4 separate regions of the Homo sapiens genome follow, and all the other regions are linked to region 3. The links are contacts of gene promoters, found by promoter capture Hi-C in blood cells and fetal thymus (Javierre and others, 2016). All regions are on one chromosome and are shown on one strand. Each heading gives the region's core, a stretch centred on a gene start or on the middle of the fragment in contact. The rest is flanking DNA. Distances are from core to core; before and after follow the strand shown. Region 1 has its middle 6.4 kb from the start of ARPP19. Region 2 overlaps ATOSA (atos homolog A). Region 3 holds the start of LEO1 (LEO1 component of Paf1/RNA polymerase II complex). Region 4 overlaps ATOSA (atos homolog A).

Region 1 (2,700 bases), core at 49-2,548, 600 kb before region 3:
CCTCTGAACTCCAGCCTGAGTGACAATGTGACACCTTATCTCTAAAAAAAAAAAATTAATAATCTATTGCTAAAAAATACTAACAATCATCTGAACCCTCAAGGAGTCATAATCTTTTTGCTGGTGGAGGATCTTGCCTGGATGTTGATGGCTGCTGACTGGTCAGGATAGTGGTTGCTGAAGGTTGGAGTGGCTGTGAGAATTTCTTAAAATAAAACATCAATGAAGTTTCTCATCAATTGACTCTTCCTTTCACGCAAGATTTCTCTGTAGCATGCAATGCTGTTTGATAGCATTTTACATACCCACAATAGAACTGGTTTCAAAACTGGAGTCAGTCCTCTCAAATCTTTCCACTGCTTTATGAGCTAAGTTTATGTAATATTTTAAAATATTTTATTGTAGCAATCAATCTGAAAACGAAAGCAATTACATTTACAATAGCTACAAAAAAAGTAAAATACCTAGGAATAAATTTAAGTGAAGAAGTGAAAGACCTCTATGAGGAAATTTATAAAACACTGATGAAAGAAATTGAAGAGAACACACACAAAAATGTAAAGCTATCCCTTGCTCATGGATTGGAACAGTTAATATTGTTAAAATTTCTATACTACACAAATTGTACTACAAAACTATAGTAACCAAAACAGAATAGTACTGGCACAAAAACAGACACATAGACCAAAGGAACAGAATAAAGAACCCAGAAACAAATATACAGCCAACCCATTTTTGACAAAGGTGCCCAGAACATACACTGCAGAAAGGACAGTTTCTCTGGTAAACAGTTCTGGGAAAATGATATCCATATGCAGAAGAATGAAATTAGATCCTTATCTTTCACCATATACAAAAATCAAGTCAAAATGGATTAGAGATTTAAATGTAAGACCTGAAACTACTAAAAAAATACACTGAGTAAATGCTCCAGGACATTGGTCCGGGCAAAGACTTTTTAGGTAACACCTCAACAGGTGTTGCACAGGCAACAGGCCGGGCGCGATGGTTCACGCCTATAATCCCAGCACTTTGGGAGGCCAAGGTGGGTGGATTACCTGAGGTCAGGGGTTCAAGACCAATCTGACCAACATGGTGAAACCCCATCTCTACTGAAAACACAAAAATGAGCCAGGTGTGGTGGTGCCTGCCTGTAATCCCAGCTACCCGGGAGGCTGAGGCAGGAGAATTGCTTGAACTCGGGAGGCGGAGATAGCAGTGAGCCGAGATCGCACCATTGCACTCCAGCCTGGGTGACAGAGCAAGGCTCCATCTCAAAAAGAAAAAAAAAAAAAAAAAAGCACAGGCAACAAAAGCAAAAATAGACAAGTGGGATTACATCAAGCTAAAAATCTTCTGCATAGCAGAGTAAACAAGTGAAGAGAAGAGAAGCTACAAAGAACATTTGCAAACTTCCATCAAACAAGAGATTGAATATATAAGCAACCCAAACAATAGCAAAAAAAAAAAACCCAAATAATCCAATTTTAAAATGCACAAAAGACCTGACTAGACATTTCTCAAAAGAAGACATATGGCTGTGTACAGTGGCTCAGGCCTGTAATCCCAGCACTTTGGGAGGCCGAGGTGGGCAGATCACTTGAGCTCAGAGTTCAAAACCAGCCTGGACACCACAGTGAGACTCTCTCTACAAAAAACTACAAAAATTATCTATGCGTGGTGGCACACACTTGTAATCCCAGCTACTTGGGAGGCTGAGGAGGACTGTTTGAACCTGGGAGGCAGAGGTTGTAGTGAGCCAAGATCACACCACTACACTCCAGCCTGGACAACCAAGTGAGACTCTGTCTCAAAAAAAAAATGTTAATTAAAAAAAAGAAAAGAATTCAGATCCTTGGCCAGGTGCAGTGACTCATGCCTGTAATCTTGGCACTTTGGGAGGACAAGGTAGATGGATCACTTGAGGTCATCAGGAGTTGGAGACCAGCCTGGCCAACATGGTGAAACCCTGTCTAAAAATTAGCCAGGTGTGGTGATGCATCCTGTAATCCCAGCTACTCGGGAGGCTGAGGCACGAGAATCGCTTGAACCCAGGAGGCAGAGGTTGCAGTGAGCCACTGCATTCCAGCCTGGGTTGGCAGAGTGAGACTCTCTCTCAAAAAAAAAGAAAGAAAGGAAATCAGTGTGTCAAAGAGATATCTGCATTCCCATGTTTACTGAAGCACTATTCACAATAGCCAAGATATGGAGTCAACCTAGGTGTCCATCAATGGATGAATAGGTATAGAAAATGTAGTATACATACATAATGGAATATTATTCAGCCATAAAAAAGAATGAAATTCTGTCATTTGCAGCAACTGGATGGAATTTGGGGTCATTATGTTCAGTGAAATAAAAGTCAGAGGAAGTCAAATGTAGCATGTTCTCACTCATATGGGAGCTAAAAAAAGTGGATCTCATGGAGATAGAGAGAGGAATGGTGATTACCAGAAGCTGCGAAGGAAGAGGGGAGAGGAGGATGAAGAGAGGTTGGTAATGAATACAAATGAAGTTTCTGTTGTCATTTCAACAACATTCACAGCATCTTCATCAGGAGTAAATTCCATCTCAAGAAACCAGTTACTTTGCTCATCCATAAGAAGCAACTCTTCATCCATTCAAATTTTATCATGATATTGCAGTAATTCAGTCACATTGTCAGACTCCACTTGTAGTTCTCTTGCTCTTCTTGTCACA
Region 2 (2,700 bases), core at 198-2,697, 640 kb before region 3:
AATCATGGTGGAAATGATGCTACTACCAGACTGCTGCTACAGCGATGATGGGCCCACCACAGAGGGAATTGATCTAAATGATCCTGCGATTAAGCAAGATGCATTATTATTAGAAAGATGGATCTTGGAGCCAGTTCCTCGACAGTAAGTTGTTGAACGTAGTTCAAAGTTGTTCTTGGTAAATCAAGTTTTCCATTACTTCTTATAAATTATTTTAATGTATCATGTCTTTGAATTCCTCTATGTAATAAAATTGAGATAGTATTTATATTTGGCACTAAAATGAGTAAATATAGTACTTGCATTTAGTAATTGTGACTTCAAGTGACATCGTAAGTGTATTCCTATGCTCTTCAAAGCACAAATCCTGAGTGATAAGTTTATGGATCTCAGCTTCTGCCATTCTAAAATTCAGTCATTTTGTACTTGCCTACATTTAAATTATGCTTTGTTACTTCCTTAGGAATGGTGACCGATTTATTGAAGAGAAGACGCTTCTGTTGGCTGTCCGCTCATTTGTGTTTTTTTCTCAGTTAAGTGCATGGCTGAGTGTTTCTCATGGTGCTATTCCACGAAATATTCTCTACAGGTATGTCTAGGGCCAAAAAAAAAGGACAGTGCGTATTCAGCCACCTTGGTTAGCAACCGAATGGCATTTTACCTTTTAAATAGATTATTTCCTGCAATTCTAAATGTAAGTGGATAAAATTTACTGAGGTTTTTCAAAACAAGTTAGAGAGATTTGGATTGACTCAATATGAATTTTGTTTGTTGTATTAAATTTGGTATGAATAATATCAAGAGAACTTTTAAGCTTACTTTAGAGAACCAATGGACTTAATGCTGCTATTATAAAGTAGAAAAGTTTTCTGAGCTGCTGAATTTTTATGTTTGACTTAATTTTTGGCATCTTGGATAATGTAAACATATAGGCTGCTAAACAGCTAACTGGCTTTTTAGGCAGATGGCCATGAGATAGGGTGTCTCTTAATCACCTTGCACAATGGAATTAGCTGAATCCATTTATGTGCTAGCAATTACAAAGTCCTTTTTTCTGTTTTAACAAATATTTTTAAGTTATAATATTCTTGAGCTTTAATGCTTAAGTGATCTGGTGTTCTTAAAAAGATCATCTCTTCCAAGCATAAGCTATTATATCACTTACATTGGTTTTATCAGAATTATATGCATGGTAAAGTGGCTAAAAGTAAACCTCAGTGGTAATTAACGCAAACAAAAATAAGTGTATGACTGCTTTACATTTAAAATAATATACAATAATAAGGATCTAACCTTTATAATCCAATAATACAGTATTTTTCTGTGTGATTCTAGAATCAGTGCTGCTGATGTAGACCTACAGTGGAATTTTTCACAGACTCCAATTGAGCATGTGTTTCCTGTTCCCAATGTTTCTCACAATGTTGCCTTGAAAGTCAGTGTTCAGTCCTTGCCCAGACAATCTAATTATCCAGTTTTGACGTGCAGTATTCACACTAATATTGGCCTTTATGAGAAAAGAATTCAACAACATAAACTTAAAACTCATCAGCACCATAACCCAAATGAAGCAGAACAATGTGGTACAAACAGTTCACAGCGTCTGTGTAGCAAACAAACTTGGACCATGGCACCTGAAAGTGTGTTACATGCAAAAAGTGGCCCAAGTCCAGAATATACTGCAGCTGTCAAAAATATCAAACTATATCCAGGCACTGGCAGTAAATCTGACCATGGGACATCTCAAGCCAATATTCTAGGCTTTAGTGGTATAGGTGATATAAAATCACAAGAAACATCAGTGAGAACTTTAAAATCATTTTCAATGGTTGATTCCAGTATCTCTAACCGCCAGAGTTTCTGGCAGTCAGCTGGTGAGACTAACCCTTTAATAGGCTCTTTAATTCAGGAGCGGCAAGAAATCATTGCAAGAATTGCCCAACATTTGATTCATTGTGATCCAAGCACTTCACATGTTTCTGGACGTCCATTTAATACTCAAGAGTCTAGTTCACTCCATTCAAAACTTTTCCGGGTTTCACAAGAAAATGAGAACGTGGGAAAAGGTAAAGAAGCTTTCTCCATGACTTTTGGTAGTCCAGAGTTTAGTTCCCCAGAAGACACCAATGAGGGGAAAATTCGACTAAAACCAGAAACTCCTCGAAGTGAAACTTGTATTTCTAATGACTTTTATTCTCATATGCCTGTTGGAGAGACTAATCCTTTGATAGGCTCTTTACTCCAGGAGCGGCAAGATGTTATTGCAAGGATTGCTCAACACTTGGAGCACATTGATCCAACAGCATCACATATCCCCCGGCAGTCATTCAACATGCATGACTCCAGTTCGGTTGCATCTAAAGTGTTTAGGAGTTCATATGAAGACAAAAATTTGTTGAAGAAAAATAAGGATGAGTCCTCAGTTTCCATTTCTCACACAAAATGTTCCTTGTTAGGAGACATCAGTGATGGGAAAAACTTAGTACCTAATAAATGTTTTACTTCTTTTAAAAATAATAGTAAAGAAAAGTGTTCTTTGAAACATCAAACAAGAAATCAGTGTCAGAACAATCCTAGTGAAATCATCCAAAGTACGTATCAGGAGACACAGAACAAAAGTTCTAGTTTATCAACTTCCTCAATTTTGTCTCAGCACAAAGAAAATAACTTAGATTTGACAAGCAGATTCAAGGAGCAAGA
Region 3 (2,700 bases), core at 19-2,518:
AACACAGGATGTACTCTTTTCTCACTTTTTCTTCTAAGAAACAGAGCCTTACTCTGTCACTCAGGCTAGAGTGAAGTGGCGTGATCATAGCTCACTGCAGCCTCCAACTCCTGGGCTCAAGTGATCCTCCATTCTCAGTTTCCTGAGTAGCTAGGGCTACAAATGCATGCCATCATGCCTGGCTAATGTTTTTATTTTTAATTATTTTATTTTATTATTATTATTTTTTTGAGATGGAGTCTCGTGCCCAGGCTGGAGTGCAGTGGCGCGATCTCGGCTCACTGCAAGCTCCGCCTCCTGGGTTCACGCCATTCTCCTGCCTCATCCTCCCTAGTAGCTGGGACGACAGGCGCCCACAACCACGCCCGGCTAATTTTTTTTATTTTAGTAGAGACGGGGTTTCACCGTGTTAGCCAGGATGGTCTCGATCTCCTGACCTCGTGATCCACCCGCCTCGGCCTCCCAAAGTGCTGGGATTACAGGCGTGAGCGACCGCGCCCGGCCAAAAAAATGGTCATTTAAAGCTTAAAAAAGCTGTTTGTTAACATGTATATTATTTTTAAATGAATTAGTAACTTAAAAATTTATTACCGTATTAGTAAGAATACAGTAAATATCAATACCCGTACCTGTAATCCCAGCACTTTGGGAGGCCGAGGCGGGCGGATTGCCTGAGCTCCTGAGTTTGCGACCAGCCTGGGCAACACGGTGAAACCCCGTGTCTACTAAAATACAAAAAATTAGCCGGGTGTGGTGGCGGGCGCCTGTCGTCCCAGCTACTCGGGAGGCTGAGGAATTAGAATTGCTTGAACCCGGACAGTGGAGGTTGCTGTGAGCCGAGATCGCGCCACTGCACTCCAGCCTGGGCGACTGAGCGAGACTCCGTCTCAACAATTTTTAAGAGGGTAAAGGGGTTTGGGATGAAATAACTGGAGAACAGCTGCTCAGTAAGAAACAAAGGGCTTCAATCCTGACTCGCGATAGGTTTAATCCAGCCAGAGGCCCTTCCCCAGAGAGCGCCAGTCACCGCCCACCCCATCCACACCCGCAACCGAACGCAGGACCCCCCCGCCCCCTGGTAAGAATCCTGGCAAATAACAGATATTGACGAAATGGCCGGGCTTATATACCATGCATACCCAGGCGAGAACAGGTTCACTGGGCGAGCGAAAACTAGGTCACGTAAGGAAAGGAGTGTCTTCGGCGAATCTTTGCGACACTGTCGTGTTTCAGTGGTTCCGTGCCGTAAAGAGAGGCCGGGAGCTGCCCCTAACCGAGGCAGCAGCGGACGTGAGCGATAATGGCGGATATGGAGGATCTCTTCGGGAGCGACGCCGACAGCGAAGCTGAGCGTAAAGGTGGGTTCGCTGGTCTTCGGAGGATGGGTGCGTGGCAGGCCTTCCGCTGTGGGAGCCGGACAACCGTGGAGGCTCCAGCGCCGCGGGCAAGAGGTGGCGTTTCCTCCACTCCTGCCTCAGCGCCCCCTGCACTCCCGGAGGTGCCATCCTCCTCCGGCGGGCAGGATGGAGAGTCAGACAGTCTGCGCCTCGAGGCTCTGGGTGTCGGTGGAGCAGACGGTTCCTGGGAGCTTGTGGAGCGAAAGGGGCGCGGGGCATGGGTGGAAGTGCAGGCGAGCCTGCGCAGCGCGGGTAGGAACGTTGGAGTCCTGTTCCGCCTTGCCTTGCACAGGCCAGCGTAGAGTAAGGGCTGTTTTTGAATGAATGGAAATGAATGCAGGAATATGGGATGGGGTGGGCGAATTTACAGAGGGCCTCAGAATGCCGTCTTGAATGAAACCAGAGCATGGTGTGATAGGGAGCTTGAGATGTCTGGATGACGAGTCTGGGACGGATAATGGGATGGGGTTACAGATAGATGTTTCACATAGGAGAGAATGTGTTCTCTAAGAGCTTGTGCAGAAACTCCAGAATTTCCGGAGTCTGTGATGTTAGATTGGGGAGTGCATGGGGTCTGTGTACAGAGAGGAGGAATGAAGGATTTGTTGATGAAATGAATGAATTAGTGTATGTGCATGCTGCTTGGAAGTTATTTCTGGCACAGGATTGTGGGTGTTTTTTTAAAGTTTACTTTTTTAGAGACAGGGTCTCACTGTGTTGCTCAGGTTGGCCTTGAACTTCTGGGCTCAAGCCATCCTTCTGCCTCAGCCTCCAAGTAGTTGAGACTACGGGCACTTGAAATATGAATAGGAGCTATTTGAAGTGAGAACCCAAGACCAAGTTCAGAATTCTTGCAACCCTCTAGGCTCCAAGTAAAGTGAGTCTCTTGTAGACAACATATATCTAGTTGTTATTTTCATCACCCCCAAATAAAACACTGTTCATAAAGCACTTACTCCTCATATGCTCCTTCCTCCAACCCCTGTCTGCTATTGTTTCTGTACTTATCTGTTCTGGGAATTTCATATAAATTGAATCATGCATTGTGGTCTTTTGTGTCTGGTTTCTTTTACTTAGCATAATGTCTTCAAGGCATTGTAGCACATATCAGTACTTTATTCATTTTTAATGATTTAATAATATTCCATTGAATGTGCACACCCTAAATTTGTTAATCCATTTATCTGTTGATGGACATTGGGTTGTTTGAATAGTGCTACTGTAAACATTCCTGGTTCCGGCAGGCGGATTTGCCTGAGCTCAGGAGTTGAAGACCAGCCTGGGCAACATGGTGAAACCCTGT
Region 4 (2,700 bases), core at 60-2,559, 660 kb before region 3:
TATGTTCACTAAATTGAGGCACTGTAACTTTTGAACAGTATCATGAACTAAAATTCAGATGAAATTAGTCTTTTCCACTTTAAGATGTTTTTAGTTAATGGGTATACAGCTACCTTCCTATAATGAAGGAAAACTTATTTAAGAAATACTGTCTGGTCAGGTGCAATGTAATCCCAGCACTGTCAGCCTACACCTGTAATCCCAGCACTTTGGGAGGCTGAAGCTGGAGGATCGCTTGAGGCCAGGAGTTTGAGACCAACTTGGGTAACATAGCAAGGCTCCTGTCTCTACAGAAAAGTTTAAAAAAATAGCTGGGCATGATGGCGCATTCCTGTAGTCCTAGCTACTTGGGAGCCTGAGGTAGAAGGATCACTTGAGTCCAGGAGTTTGAGGTTACAATGGGACTGCCTATTCAATTTCAAAACACACTTTGAACCATGCAATTTCTTGGGTTAGCATTGTGTTTTAGAACACTTTAGTTATTTGTCCAGCCAACGAGGAAATCTAACTTTTCGTCAGTAGCTTTCAGTTTGAGTGTTAAATTCGAGATATGTTGCTTGCTTTAAAACTTGTTTCTTACATTAAAAAATGTAAAATGCATTCTAGAAATTATATATATATGGCAAACTAATTTGCCATAACACATAGGCGTAGGTGTTTGTCCTATTACTTGGATTTATCAGCTCTGTATCCTTTGGAAAGTTGAACAATATTGTAAGTTGAATATTGTCTTTTTTCCCTTTATACCATAATTCTTCACCTTAATATTTTCATCAACTCATAAAATCTTAAAGTTGGAAGACTTTTTTTAAGAAGTGGTGTACTTTGATAGTTAAAGTAACCTAGAACAAAAGAGGTTAATATGGGAGAATGTGGACCTCATGAAATCCAGCACAGTGCTTATTTTTCACTAACTAGTACCACCTTACAAACAGTGAGACCTAGGCAAGAGTGAGATGTGCAGAATTCCCAGACTTCAGTTTTCCACATACATGCTGAAATTTTAAAAACAGGTTTATTTTGTCATACATGAGACAATGTGAATTTTTTAAAATTATGAAGCATATCATAGCTACAAAGAGCATATACATTAAAGATGGTTTAGAGAACAGCAAAATGACCTCCCATGCAGTTGCTACTCAGCTTGAGAAGCAGAACCTTGTGTGCTGACTCCTGTGTTCCTCTCCTCAGGTACATCCCCAAAATATCCACTGTTCTGAATTCTGTGTTGTCTCTTTTAAAATATTTTATCACATATATAACCATAAACTATGTTGTTTAGCTTGTTTTTTAAACTTTTATGCAAATAGAATCATCCTATAGTGTTCTACAACCTGTATGTAGCTGTAGGTTATTATTCTTGTACTTACGTTTACTCCTGTATCCCATTATATGAGTGTATCACAGCATTCATTCTATGGACGATAAACACTTGTTTTTTCCAAAATTTTGTTGTTATAGACAGTGCTTCTTTGAACATTCTTATATTAGTCTCCTAGCATACATGTACAAGATTTTCTCTAGGTTATTTACCTAGGAGAGTAATTGAGTTGTAGAGTATGTACTTCTTAACTAGGTAATGCCAGGTTATTTTTGAAAGTGTTTGCACCAGTGTGTACCTTTACTAGCAGTGTATGACCACTTCTGTTGCTCTATACCTTTAGCAATATTTAGTCAATTTTCCTGCACAATCCTTTGAATGTGAAATCATATGTAATTGTAGTTTTAATTTGTATTTTGCAATGATTAAGGAGTTCTACATCTTATATTCATTAACCTTTCAGGATTCTTAGGTGAAATATTCTAGATATTCATCTTTTGTCAGCATTTGCATTGCAAATATTTTCTTTGTTTTTGGCATGTCTTCTCAGTCTCTGTGGTGCCTTTGGTGTAGCACTTCATCTTCCTTAGTCCATAGGAACCTTCGTAATGCCTGTGGTTTAATAAAGACAAGTAACTCTGAACTTTCAACAACCAACTTGGGAAACAAAGTTGTAGAACATTAGTTTTTAGAAATTTGGGGCTACTTTTAAGCTATATTTATAGGAGTGCTAGTAGAACACATGTGAGGAATACAGGGAGGCCTACTTTGGGATGTTTGAAAGATGGGAGTCTGGGAAAAGAACTTGTTCAGAACACACAGGAAACAAAAGTACAGTAATGACTTTCCTTAGGTACCCCACCACCACCAACGTCCTGCCCTAACCTGTTGAACTTCCTCTAGCTCTAATTTTACTCTATTGTATACAAATATTTTTTGTTTTTTGTCTTATTTTCCTGCTGTATATTGTTTCTACTTCATTTGTTTTGTTTCTCCCTGCTGCTTCCCCAATTCTGTCTTCATTTTGATTTCAATTCTTAATTACTTATCCTTCTAGTCTTTTCTTTTTTTTTATTTTTTAATTTTTTTTAGATGGAGTCTTGCTCTGTTGCCCAGGCTGGAGTGCAGTGGCACAATCTCAGCTCACTGCAACCTCTGCCTCCCGGGTTCAAGCGATTCTGCTGCCTCAGCCTCTCGAGTAGCAGAGATTACAGGTGCCCGCCATCAGGCCCAGATAATTTTTGTATTTTTAGTAGAGACAGGATTTCACCATGTTGGCCAGGCTAGTCTCGAACTCCTGAGCTCATGATGTGCCCTCCTCAGCCTGCCAAAGTGCTGGGATTACAGGCATGAGCCACGATGCCTGGCCTTTTTTTTTT

Evidence for each region. Contacts are between HindIII fragments. The CHiCAGO score rates a contact against its expected background, and 5 or more counts as called.
Region 1: a contact is called between a fragment that was not itself captured here and the fragment with the promoter of LEO1 in region 3, in 1 of 17 cell types (naive CD8 T cells). The highest score is 5.3, in naive CD8 T cells.
Region 2: a fragment that was not itself captured here is called in contact with the fragment with the promoter of LEO1 in region 3 in 1 of 17 cell types (naive B cells); the score reaches 6.5 in naive B cells.
Region 4: a fragment that was not itself captured here is called in contact with the fragment with the promoter of LEO1 in region 3 in 2 of 17 cell types (total B cells and naive CD8 T cells); the score reaches 5.6 in total B cells.

What each region holds. Positions count from the first base shown.
Region 1 is chr15:52,574,080-52,576,779 of GRCh38, reverse strand. No RefSeq gene overlaps it. Among named protein-coding and RNA genes, the nearest start is that of ARPP19, 6.4 kb to the right of the region's middle. The HindIII fragment of the contact is 4,599 bases long and covers 1-2,700 here.
Region 2 is chr15:52,609,019-52,611,718 of GRCh38, reverse strand. ATOSA (atos homolog A) reads left to right here. Exons shown (of 13, transcript NM_001385016.1): 4 at 1-144; 5 at 464-589; 6 at 1,336-2,700. Among named protein-coding and RNA genes, the nearest start is that of ARPP19, 41 kb to the right of the region's middle. The HindIII fragment of the contact is 1,261 bases long and covers 817-2,077 here.
Region 3 is chr15:51,970,346-51,973,045 of GRCh38, reverse strand. LEO1 (LEO1 component of Paf1/RNA polymerase II complex) reads left to right here and starts at 1,268. Exons shown (of 12, transcript NM_138792.4): 1 at 1,268-1,358. The coding sequence starts at 1,301. It also overlaps a transcript of MAPK6 not described here. RefSeq lists enhancers at 999-1,574, 1,222-1,751, 1,575-2,151. The HindIII fragment of the contact is 6,227 bases long and covers 527-2,700 here.
Region 4 is chr15:52,629,512-52,632,211 of GRCh38, reverse strand. The region is part of intron 2 of ATOSA (atos homolog A); the gene reads left to right. Among named protein-coding and RNA genes, the nearest start is that of ATOSA, 49 kb to the left of the region's middle. The HindIII fragment of the contact is 4,403 bases long and covers 1-2,700 here.